Regions from separate parts of the Homo sapiens genome. Here all the other regions are linked to region 1. Evidence: promoter capture Hi-C in human tissues and cell types (Jung and others, 2019). All regions are on one chromosome and are shown on one strand. The core of a region is centred on a gene start or on the middle of the fragment in contact, and the rest is flanking DNA. Distances in the headings are between cores, read along the strand shown. Region 1 holds the start of SIX4 (SIX homeobox 4). Region 2 overlaps MNAT1 (MNAT1 component of CDK activating kinase). Region 3 has its middle 36 kb from the start of SIX4.

Evidence for each region. Contacts are between HindIII fragments. The study calls those that stand out against the background at their distance.
Region 2: a contact is called between a fragment that was not itself captured here and the fragment with the promoter of SIX4 in region 1, in 2 of the 25 tissues and cell types used here (adrenal gland and mesenchymal stem cells).
Region 3: a contact is called between a fragment that was not itself captured here and the fragment with the promoter of SIX4 in region 1, in 1 of the 25 tissues and cell types used here (IMR-90 fibroblasts).

Annotation. Positions count from the first base shown.
Region 1 is chr14:60,722,381-60,726,042 of GRCh38, forward strand. SIX4 (SIX homeobox 4) reads right to left here and starts at 1,971. Exons shown (of 3, transcript NM_017420.5): 1 at 832-1,971. The coding sequence starts at 1,694. RefSeq lists silencers at 36-105, 1,384-1,453. The HindIII fragment of the contact is 7,845 bases long and covers 1-3,313 here.
Region 2 is chr14:60,786,068-60,789,729 of GRCh38, forward strand. All of the region lies in intron 1 of MNAT1 (MNAT1 component of CDK activating kinase), which reads left to right. Among named protein-coding and RNA genes, the nearest start is that of MNAT1, 53 kb to the left of the region's middle. The HindIII fragment of the contact is 3,656 bases long and covers 1-3,409 here.
Region 3 is chr14:60,686,504-60,690,165 of GRCh38, forward strand. No RefSeq gene overlaps it. Among named protein-coding and RNA genes, the nearest start is that of SIX4, 36 kb to the right of the region's middle. The HindIII fragment of the contact is 4,287 bases long and covers 1-3,662 here.

The DNA of each region.
Region 1 (3,662 bases), core at 721-3,220:
GCCTGCCCCCCACCCATAACTACCGTACCAGGAGGGAGCCAAGCAGCGTTCGGGGGCCGAGGGAGGAAGCAGCCCTTCAGCCCTGCTACCCCGGCTGCGCTGAAACCCGATCCTAAGGAGTTCAGAATCAGGTTTCAAAACATGACAGAGCCGAGCTGCACCAGCACCCCACGTTGCCGCGGCCGCTAAGGGAACCATAGGGGCAGGGTGAATGATTAACTCTGTCATATGAAACCTCGACGTTCCGAGACCCCTTCTGCGCCGCCAGTCCCACAACACTCTCTTCCCTTCACCAGAGCAGCCACCGCGACCTCCAGCGCAGGCCCGGGGGGCGGCTGAACCCTGGGGATCCGGGAGCGTGCGCGCGCGCCAGGCCCGGTGTGACCTCGCGGAGGTGCAGACCCCGGCCGGCGCCGGCAGTCTCTGCGGGCCTCGGGCGGCAGGGAGAGCTACGGTGCCGGTGTCCACATTTGCTTCGTTAGCCCCTCCAGAAACGGGGAGAGGGTGGCAACTTCAAAGCCAGCGGGATGGGGGTGGGAAGCTGGGCAGCAGTGACCAGCCGAGGTGGGGGCGGGGACTGAGACCTAGGCGGGCGACCAGAAACTTCTGGGGGGAGAGGGGGAGGGTAAGGAGGGAGGTTCCCCCGCCCCCCGCCTCCGCCGCCCCCTACCTCTGCCGGCCGGGGAGCGAGGTAGGGGGCGGGGAGAGGTGGGCAGCCGGACCAGGCTGGTGGGGAAGGTAAGCGCCATGTTTGCGAGCACTTGGAGGAAAAGAAAGCCGGGAAGGGGGTGGGGGAGAGGAAGGGGGAGGAGGAGGAAAGTTGGCGCTCACCTTTTGGACTGGGTCTCGGAGGGGTTCCTGTCGCGCTGCCGGCGGTTCTTGAACCAGTTGCTGACCTGGGTGAGGGAGAGGCCGGTGATCTTGGCCAGGTGCCGCTTCTCGGCGGGCGAAGGGTAGCGATTCTGCTTGTAGAGCTCCTTGAGCGCGTTGCGCGACTTCTCCTTGAAACAATACACCGTCTCCTCGCCGTCCCAGATGGTGCGGGGCAGGGGGAATTTCCTGCGCAGCCGGTACTTGTCTACGGCTCCCAGCGGCCGGCCGCGGGCTCGCTCGGCCTCGGTGTAGCGCGCCTTGTACCAGAGCTGCTGCAGCAGCGGGTGGTTGGCCGACTCGAAGCTGTGGCTCTCGAGGATGCTGTAGAGCTCGGGGTAGATGCCCTGGTGGAAGGCCACGAGCGCCCGCGCCTTCAGCAGGCTCTCGTTGCCACGTAGCAGGTCGCTCTGGGGCAGGGACCACAGGAACCGGGCCAGGCGGTCCAGGTTGCCCCCCTGCTGCAGTGCCTCGCACACGCAGGCGACGTGGTCGGGCGAGAAGGCCAGCGGGGTCTGCGCGGCGGCGGCGGCGGCGTGGTGGTGCCTGCCCAGAAGTTCCGAGTGGAGTTGTACCTGATCCGCCGCCGCTCCGGCCGCCGCCGCCGCCACTGCCCCTTCCTCTCCGCTCACCCTGGCGGCAGCGGTCGCGGCGTCCCCCGGCTCCAGGGGAAAAGGGGCTGGAGCCGGGGGGCTCAGCCCTACCGCCGCGCCCCCCGCCACTTCTCGGTGCGCCTCCTGCCCTTCCGAGGCGCTTTCCATCCCATTCTCTTGCTTGATGTCCGCCGCACTTGCGATCTGCCCGGTGGGGGAGGAAGAGGACATTTTTTGTTGTTTATTTTCCTCCCTCCCTCACTCCCTCGCACTCTTTTCCTCTTTCTTTCCTCCTCTCTTACTCCTCCTCCTTCGTCTCCCTCCCTCCTCTCCCCCTCCGGAAAGCCCACTCCCTCCCTCCTGGTTTCGGCTGTATCTGGCCGATCAGGTTTCCCCCCGGCCACGCAGTCACCATTAAGATAGCTGTTAGAGCAAAGTAGTGTAAACGGATAGCTGCTTTCTGCCGTTCCCCCAACGTGACTCCTCCGGTTGCTGCATACTATATGGCAGTGGCGGCCGGGCCGGCCCGGCCTAGCCACCTCATTGGCTATTTCGCATTCAGAGGGAGGAGGAGACACAGTTTCTATCCCTGTCGATCACCCGCCTCCCACTCCACCCCTCGCCTTTCCCTCCCCTCCTGACCCCCAGGCACCTATACCTGAAGGAAAACACCGACATTCTTTCCAAGCCACGCTCCTGGGCGGGAAATTACCTAATGTGGCCTGAAAACTGGACAACTCTTTCAAACAGAGGCCCTACAATTCCAGAGGGAATATTAATTGTGTGGCCTTAAGGTCTGGATGGTTAAATTTTTAACAAAGAGACCACCCTCAGCATCTAGATGACAAAACTTCAGAGGACAATTCAGAAGCCCCCCAGTATGTCCCTGTTCCCCATTCTCCCTCTTTTTGGATGTCTTTATCAAGGATTTTGTATTCAAAACGGTCAAAAATAAAATGACACTAGGAAATGTTCTAAGGGGCAAGCATTTACAGTAAATTAAAATTCCAAAGAGGGAAAAATGCTTGAAAACCTTATAATTAGCAGCATAAATAGCACACTGAGAAGACAAAAACAAGAAGCCTTCAAAAAATGTACTTAACCTTAAGCCACGTGGAGGGCTGGCAACCCAACTGAGTTGAACATGGTATAATTAAACATGTAGAATATTAAACCATAAGTTTATCCTGGATGAGTCGTGTGGAAGAGATCTAAGCTTTAAATATGGAAATTTAAGTTTTCTACATGAACTTTTTAATGTAAGTATATGAGTATTTCTTTTTTAACGATGATAGGCTAGAAACACTGAATGTGCGGGTGTCATCCAGATCAGTGCAGGATCAGAAGCCCTTTTCCACAGCATAGACAGATTGCCCTCTGGTTTGATGCTGAAGTGGGGGTAGAGTCTTTTGTTGTTTGCAGTTGTGTCTCTTTCCTTTGTAATTTGCACAAGATCTTAATTCCAAAAGGGATGATCCATTTCTGCTTCTTTGATTACTGTAGGTCAGTTGGGTTTGCCTGCTGCTGCTCTTTCTCAAAATTCAACTTTTTTTCCCCCCGAGATGGAGTCTCGCTCTGTCGCCCAGGCTGGAGTGCAGTGGTGTGATCTCGGCTCACTGCAAGCTCCGCCTCCTGGGTTCACGCCATTCTCCTGCCTCAGCCTCCCGAGTAGCTGGGACTACAGGCGCCCGCCACCACGCCCAGCTAATTTTTTTTTTTTTTTTTTTTTTGTATTTTTTAGTAGAGACGGGGTTTCACCACGTTAGCCAGGATGGTCTCGATCTCCTGACCTCGTGATCCGTCCGCCTCGGCCTCTCAAAATTCAACATTTTAATGACATCATCCTAACCTTTGCTTCAGGGTGGCCTTGTATTGTGTATGCTTCCCAGCTACTCATAGCTGCCTACTTCAGCATATTACAAAGCAGCTGTCTAGGTCACCTGCCGTCATGATAAACTTGGTGAGATTTTCTTTTTTTTTGTAGACAGGCTTTATTTTATTGCTGGTCAATCAAGATGTCATTTGATGTAGGATTTAACTTGTTTTTGCATTACCCTAATGTGTTGACATCGCTGGTAGATTTAAAATTTATAACAACAGAAAAGGCCATATTATTTATTTGCTTATTTATTTATTTATTTATTTATTTATTTTTTGAGATGGAGTCTCACTCTGTTGCCCGGGCTGGAGTGCAGTGGC
Region 2 (3,662 bases), core at 332-2,831, 63 kb after region 1:
AGAAACAAAATATAATTAAGAAAAATTGAATAAAATAAATAATAGAAAAGTAGAAATTAGTAAATTGGAAAACACACAAAAAATTGTGAAATTCAAGTTTCTTTATAGTGATTCTTTAAAAGGGCCTTTATACAACTTAGACAAACATGTAGCATTTCTAATCAAGAGAAAGAGGTAGAAAAACAAAATAAGAAGTGAAGAGAGAGCTAGAACAATAGTAACAGTGGAAAATTTAAAAAATATTTTAGTACTAATAAATGAGAAAATCTTAATGGCTTGGGTAGTTTGGGGAACACTTAAATTATGATTGCATTCCTTTGAGTTCATTTGTTCATTATAAGCAATCTTTTATTGGTCACATGTAACAGTGGTTCTCAGACTTTTTGGTGTTAGTAACTTTTATAATTTTAAAAGTTATTGATGACCCTCAAGACCTCTTATTTATGAAAGTTATATCTGTTAACATTTATCATATTAGGAATTAAAATTTGGAAACTTTGAAATGTTCATTTATTCATCAAAAATTATAAACCTATTACATGTTACCACAATGTATTTTTATGAAACATAACTATATTTTCCAAAACAAAAAAATTTTGTGAGATGAGTAGCATTGTTTTACATTTTTGCAAATCTTTTAAAAATGCTTGGCTTAAGAGAAGAAAACTAGATTCTCACATCTGCTTCTGTGTTGAGTCTGTTGTATGTTTTGGTTGAAATAAATGAAGACTATCTGGCATCTATAGATACCTATTTGGAAAAGGGATAAGCATTTTAATAATAGCCTTTTCAGGTAATTGCTGACATTGTTTTTGGACATACTTAGTTACATGTATTTTTAACTCCTTTGAATCATGGTGGAAGTAAAGACATACCTTATTTAGTGCAGTGGCATTAATGGAAATCAGAGTATTAGTTGAATTTGCCCTTCCTTTCCCCGAAGTAGAATTATAGTAAAGGTCTGTATGCAAATGCTAGCTTGGTTTAGTGGGACATCGTTCTTTCAAGTCTCCAAAGTCCTGAATGCTCCTGTGGCCATGGTGCTTTCCCTTATTACTCGTATGCAGACATACCTCAGACATATTGCTGGTTTGGTTTCTGACCACCACAGTAAAGCAAATATCATAATACAACAAATAGCACAATAAAGTGACTAGCACAATAAAGTGTGTCACACAAACTTTTTGATTTCTTAGTGTGTATGAAAGTTATGTTTACACTATACTGTAGTATATTAAGTGTACAATATCAATATGACTAAAAAACAGTGTGCATACCTTAATTAAAATATACTTTACTGCTAAAAATTGCTAACAATCATCTGAGCCTTCGAAAGTGACTATAATCTTTGTGCTAGTAGAAGGTCTTGCCCAGATGTTGATGGCTCCTGACTGATCAGGATGGTGATTGCTGAAGGTTGGGGTGGCCTTGGTGATTTCTTAAAATGAGACAACAATGAAGTTCGTTGCATTTATTGACTCTTCCTTTCATGAAAGATTTCCCTGGAGCATGTGATGCTGTTTGATAACATTTACTTACTGGAAAATTCCTCGCAAAATTGGAATCAATTCTCAAACCTTGCCACAGCTTTATCAACTAACTGTATATGTTATTTCTGAATCTCTTGTCATTTCAACAGTGTTCACAGCATCTTCACCAGGAGTAGATTCCATATCAAGAATCATCCCTAAGAAGCCCAAACTCCTCATTTGTTCAAGTTTGATCATGAGATTGCAGCAATTCAGTCACATCTTCAGGCTCCACTTCTAATTCTAGTTCTCTCGCTGTTTCTGCCATATCTGCAGTTATTTTCTCCACTGAAGTCAGACCCTGAAAGTCATCTGTGAGGATTGGAATCAACTTCTTCCAAATGCCTTTTAATGTTAATATTTTTTATCTTTTCACATGAATCACACATGTTCTTAATGGCATCTAGAATGGTGAATCCTTTCAAAAAGGTTTTGAATTTGCTTTGCCCAGATCTATCAGAGGAATCATTGTCTGTAGCAGCTACAGCATTATGACATGTATTACTTAAATAACAAGACTTCAATGTCAGAATTACTCCTTGACCCATGGGCTTTTGAATGGATGTTGTGTTAGCAGGCATGAAAACAACATTCATGTCCTTGCACATATCCATCAGAGGTCTTAGGTGACCAGATTCATTGTCAATGGGCAGTAACATTTTGGAAGGAATCTTTTTTTCCGAGCAATAGGTCTCAACAGTGGGTTCAAATATTAAGCAAACCATGCTGTAAATAGATGCGCCATCATTCAGGCTTTATTCTTCCATTTATAGAGCACAGGCAGTATAGATTTAGCATAATATTTAAGGGCTTTATGATTTTTCAAAATGACAAATGAACATTGGTTTCAATTTAGTCATCAGCTGCACTATCTCCTGAAAAGACACCCTTGCCTTTGAAGCTTTGAAACCAGGCATTGGCTTCTCCTCTGTAGCTATGGAAGTCCTAGACGGCATCTTCCAATAGAAGGATGTTTCATCTGCATTGAAAAGTCTGTTTTTCAGTGTAGCCACCTTCATCATTATCTTAGATAGATATTATGGATAACTTGCTGAAGCCTCCATATCAGCACTTGCTGCTTCACCTTGCACTTTTATGTTATGGAAACAGCATCTTTCCTTGAATTTCATGAACCAACCTCTGCTAGCTTCAGACTTTTCTTCTGCAACTTCCTCACCTTTCTCAACCTTTATAGGATTGAAGAGAGTTAGGTATTAGGATCTGGATTAGGTTTTGGTTTAAGGGAATGTTGTGGCTGGTTTGATCTTTTATCCAGACCACTGAAACTTTCTCTGTATAAATGATAAGACTGTTTTGCTTTCTTAACATTGTGTGTCATTGGCGCAGTGCTTTTAATTTCCTTCGAGGACTTTTCCTTTGCATTCATGACTTGGCTAACTGGTGCAGTTGGCCTAGCTTTTGGGCTATCTCAGCTTATGATACACCCTCCTCAGGAAGCTTGGTCATTTCTGTCTTTTGATTTAAAGTGAGAAACCTGTGATTGTTTTTTTCACCTGAACACCTAAGAGTCCATTGTAGGGTTATTAATTGGCCTAATTTAAATATTGTTGTGTCTCAAGGAATGGGAGGTCTGAGAAGAGGGAGAGAGTTGGAGGAACAGTCAGTTGGTGAAGCAGTTGGAGTACATACAACATTTATTAAGTTTGCTGTCTTATATGGGTGCTTTTCATGGTGCCCTGAAACAATTAAAATGGTAACACCAAAGATCACTGATCACATAACACCATGTCAGATATAACGATAATGAAAATGTTTGAAATATTGTGAGAATTACCAAAATGTGAAACAGAGACGTGAAGTAAGCATATGCTGTTGGAAAAATGGTGCCGATAGACTCATTCCATGGCAGCGTTGCCACAAATCTTGAATTTGTAAAAAATGAAATATCTGCAAAGCCCAATAAGGCAATTCGCAATAAAATGAGGCATGCCTGTAATTGTCAGTTCTCCCAGTCTGCAGTATTATTTCTGAAGCCCTTCATAAAGTTAGACAGACTTTTCCCTCCAATTTCTAGCTTTTACCTTGTTTCCTCAACCATATCCCTGAAGGGGCTTTGAGCCTCTAATGTCTTAAATCTTAACATCCAGCACTATCACATGCACACCCTTTTTA
Region 3 (3,662 bases), core at 300-2,799, 36 kb before region 1:
CCGGGTGTGGTGTTGCACGCCTGTAATCTCAGCTACTCGAGAGGCTAAGACAGGAGAATTGCTTGAACCCGGGAGGCGGAGGTTTCAGAGAGCTGAGATGTCACCACTACACTCCAGCCTGGACAACACAGCAAGACTCTGTCACACACACACAAAAAAAGTACAATAGTAAATTTGATGCTGTATGTATTTTACCGCAATTGAAAAATAAAAAGAATGGATGAATCTCATCTTCAGCTTTTCATAATTCTATGTAATTTTATCCTATATCTAGTATAATAGTGATTACTTCTGTTGTACTTAGAAATAAATATGTACTTAGAAATAAATATTAGAAATATTTATTGTTGTACTTAGAAATAAATATTCCATTATGAGTTGGTCCTTAGTCTCATAATTTTACAGAAAGTAACAAATTGTCTTAAGAAAGTAGAGCACATTGTATAATCTTTTTCCACAAAACATTGAAATAATGAGTCATTAACAAAGGTGTCTAGTGATGTATACAGAAAGTTACTAAAATACACAATAGAATTAGCAAATCAAACAGTGAAAGGCAAACTCAGACATGACTCCTTGCCCATCAGGACAGGCCAAAGCAAACAAGGGTATTTTGCATTGTGCTGTGAAGGTCAATAAACACAGACTTGGCTAGTTCAGGAGAGGCAGAAAAATGTAGAAACCAGGGCCTTTGGAATTAAGCCTCACCCCAAAATTCAAACCATAGGGTAGAACTCAGATGCAAACAATGTTTCTGTTGACTGGAAGATGACTTGGGAAAAAAACCACAACTAATCAGGTTCTGGGTGTCAGAAAACGATTTTACCAGGCCATTTAGGGGTGAGCAAGTTTGATTCCAAGTTCTAATCAAAAGGTGAATATCATTGTCTTCCCAACTGACTAGAAAGTCTGTAAGAAAGTGTTTCAGGGACACTACTGAGCCCCAGGGCAAGAAGGAGAAAGAAGGAAGTGGTGTTCTTTTTTTTACTTTAAAATTTTCTTCCTGATTATCTGCATAAAACATATTCATTGAAAAGTGCAATACACATCGTTATTCTGAGGGCCTAATAGCTCTCCTCTTTTCTAGATACATGGCACTCTTCATTCCCTTGCACTAGCCATCTGGTCAGTGAATATTGCTGTCTCCTTTCACAAATCTGTCTTCCTGGCCACAGTGATTGTTCTAAGAGTAGACACATGATCCAAGTTGGCCCCTAATACTCTCTCATTACCACCACCTGAGCCACTGTGATTGGGTAATGGTTGGACACGAGATCTAACATGGGCCAGTGAGAACTTTTCATTGTGATTGTTCTAGATGCACCTCCCCAACCCCACTCAAACAATGGAGAGACAGTCTTTTATTTTCCTTGGCAAAACTAGAAAATGTGAATCCAGGAGCTACTGGCAACAGGGTTCTAAGGCTTGTGGAGAAGGCAGAGCTACCCTAGGAGACATTGACCCCAAGGTACAGAGAGGAGCAGAAACTGGATTCTAAAGAACTGGAGAGACCCTGGTTGCAGTCAGTTTTAGCAAATGGTTTCATGAGCCAATAAATATTAGTGCCCTGACTGACTCTGTGAACCAATAAATATCCTTCTTACTAAGCTAGTTTGATTTAGGTTTCAGACGCTTACACCCAGAAGAGCCCTAACTGATATCATCAAACAGAAAAGTATTAAGAAACAGAATACTCATCCATAGTGGTATTCTCTAGTGGCAACAGCTGATAATGAGGCAGGAAAATAGGGTCTGGAGGAAGGGAACCTAAGGCCATTTCACACTGACTTCCTAGAACTAAACTGAAAGGAAATCCCTAACTTTCCACACCTAAGTAACAAAAGGACCACAGGCTACTCCCTTTGTAAACCCCCATCTTTTCTGCAACGCAGATGGGAAATTGAAAATACCTCTGCAAGAAGCAACCAATGAGGCATTTGCCTAGGAGTGTAACTTTATAATTTCACTTCAGCCTCTGATTAGTTGCTGTCTGCAGCCAATCAGACCGATTGCGAGCCAAGTTTTCATTTGCATAGAAGTGAAAAATTTGTAACATCACTTTAGCCTCTGATTGGTTGCTTTCCACAATCAGTCAGATGTTTGCATGGGAGTCTGACCTTTGCAACTTCATTTCAGCTGCTGATTGGTTGCTTTCCACAACCAATAAGCGAGCAACCACTGGGAAACCTCTAGCCGTTGTTTGGACCGGAGAAGATTCTGTATCTGGAGCCCTTGGGCCGCTGCTCTGGCCGCTCCCACGCTGTGGAGCGTACTTTCATTTGCAATAAATCTCTGCATTTGTTCTTTCGCTGCATCATTCTTTCCTTGCTCTGCTGTACATTTTGTCCAATTCTTTGTTCAAAACGCCAAGAACCTGGACAACATGCAGTCAAGACCCTCCACCAGTAACAGTAACATTCTGGTATGTGTACTTGTGGACTTTTAACTAAGCTTTTTTTTTTCCATTTATTTTCTCATCAAATTGAAGGTATAATATATACCCTTTTGGGGTCCTTTTATTTCTCTGTCACGTTGTATCATTTTCTAGTATCACTGAAAATGTTATAAAATAATTATAATTTTTTGGCCAGGCGCAGTGGGTCACGCCTGTAATCCCAGGACTTTGGGAGTCCGAGGTGGGCGGATCACGAGGTCAGGAGTTCGAGACCAGCCTGACCAACACGGTAAAACCCTGTCTCTAATAAAAATACAAAAATTAGCTGGGTGTGGTGGTGCACATCTGTAATCCCAGCTACTCAGGAAGCTAAGGCAGGAGAATCGCTTGAACCCGGGAGGCGAAAGTAGTGAGCCAAGATCGTGCCACTGCACTCCAGCCTGGGCGACAGAGCAAGACTCCCTCTCAAAAAAAAAAAATTATAATTTTTACAATTGTTTACATAATATTGGACTTTAGGTTATTTTCAAGTTTTTGATGCATATTGGGAATGAATTTTTGTCTCTCAAATTATCGTGGGAAATATATTGCTAGGAAGAAAATTACTGAGGCAAAGATTATGAATAGTGCCTTTGAAAGTTTTACACTTTTGTCATAAAAGCGATATATGATAAAAATAATTAAACAATTTAAAAGGATATAAAAGTGAAGGTCATCTTTCCATCTCTGACCTTCAGTCTTATTTCTTCTCCCTAGACTATAGGTATGTGTGTGTGTACATATTCCCCTGGAACTTTTTTTTTTTTTTAGTTGGAGTCTTGCTGTGTCACCCAGGCTGGAGTGCAATGGCACAATCTCGGCTCACTGCAACCTCTGTCTCCCAGGTTCAAGCGATTCTCCTGCCTCAGCCTCCCAAGTAGCTGGGACTACAGGCAGCAGCCACCACGCCCAGCTAATTTTTGTATTTTTAGTAGAGACAGGGTTTCGCCATGTTGGCCAGGCTGGTCTCGAACTCCTGACCTCAGGTGATCCACCCGCCTCAGCCTCCCAAAGTGCTGGGATTACAGGCATGAGCCACCGCGCCTGGTCTCCCCTGCAACTTTTGAAGAAACCCACCAAATTATGGTATTGTAAGAATACTGTTGTGTATTTTGATTTTCATAGTTTTAACAACATGTATTTTTAACAGCTGTGTGGCATTTAATTACCCCTTCCAATGATGGACATCTAGGCCTTTTCCACAGTTACCATTACAAAGAAGTCTACA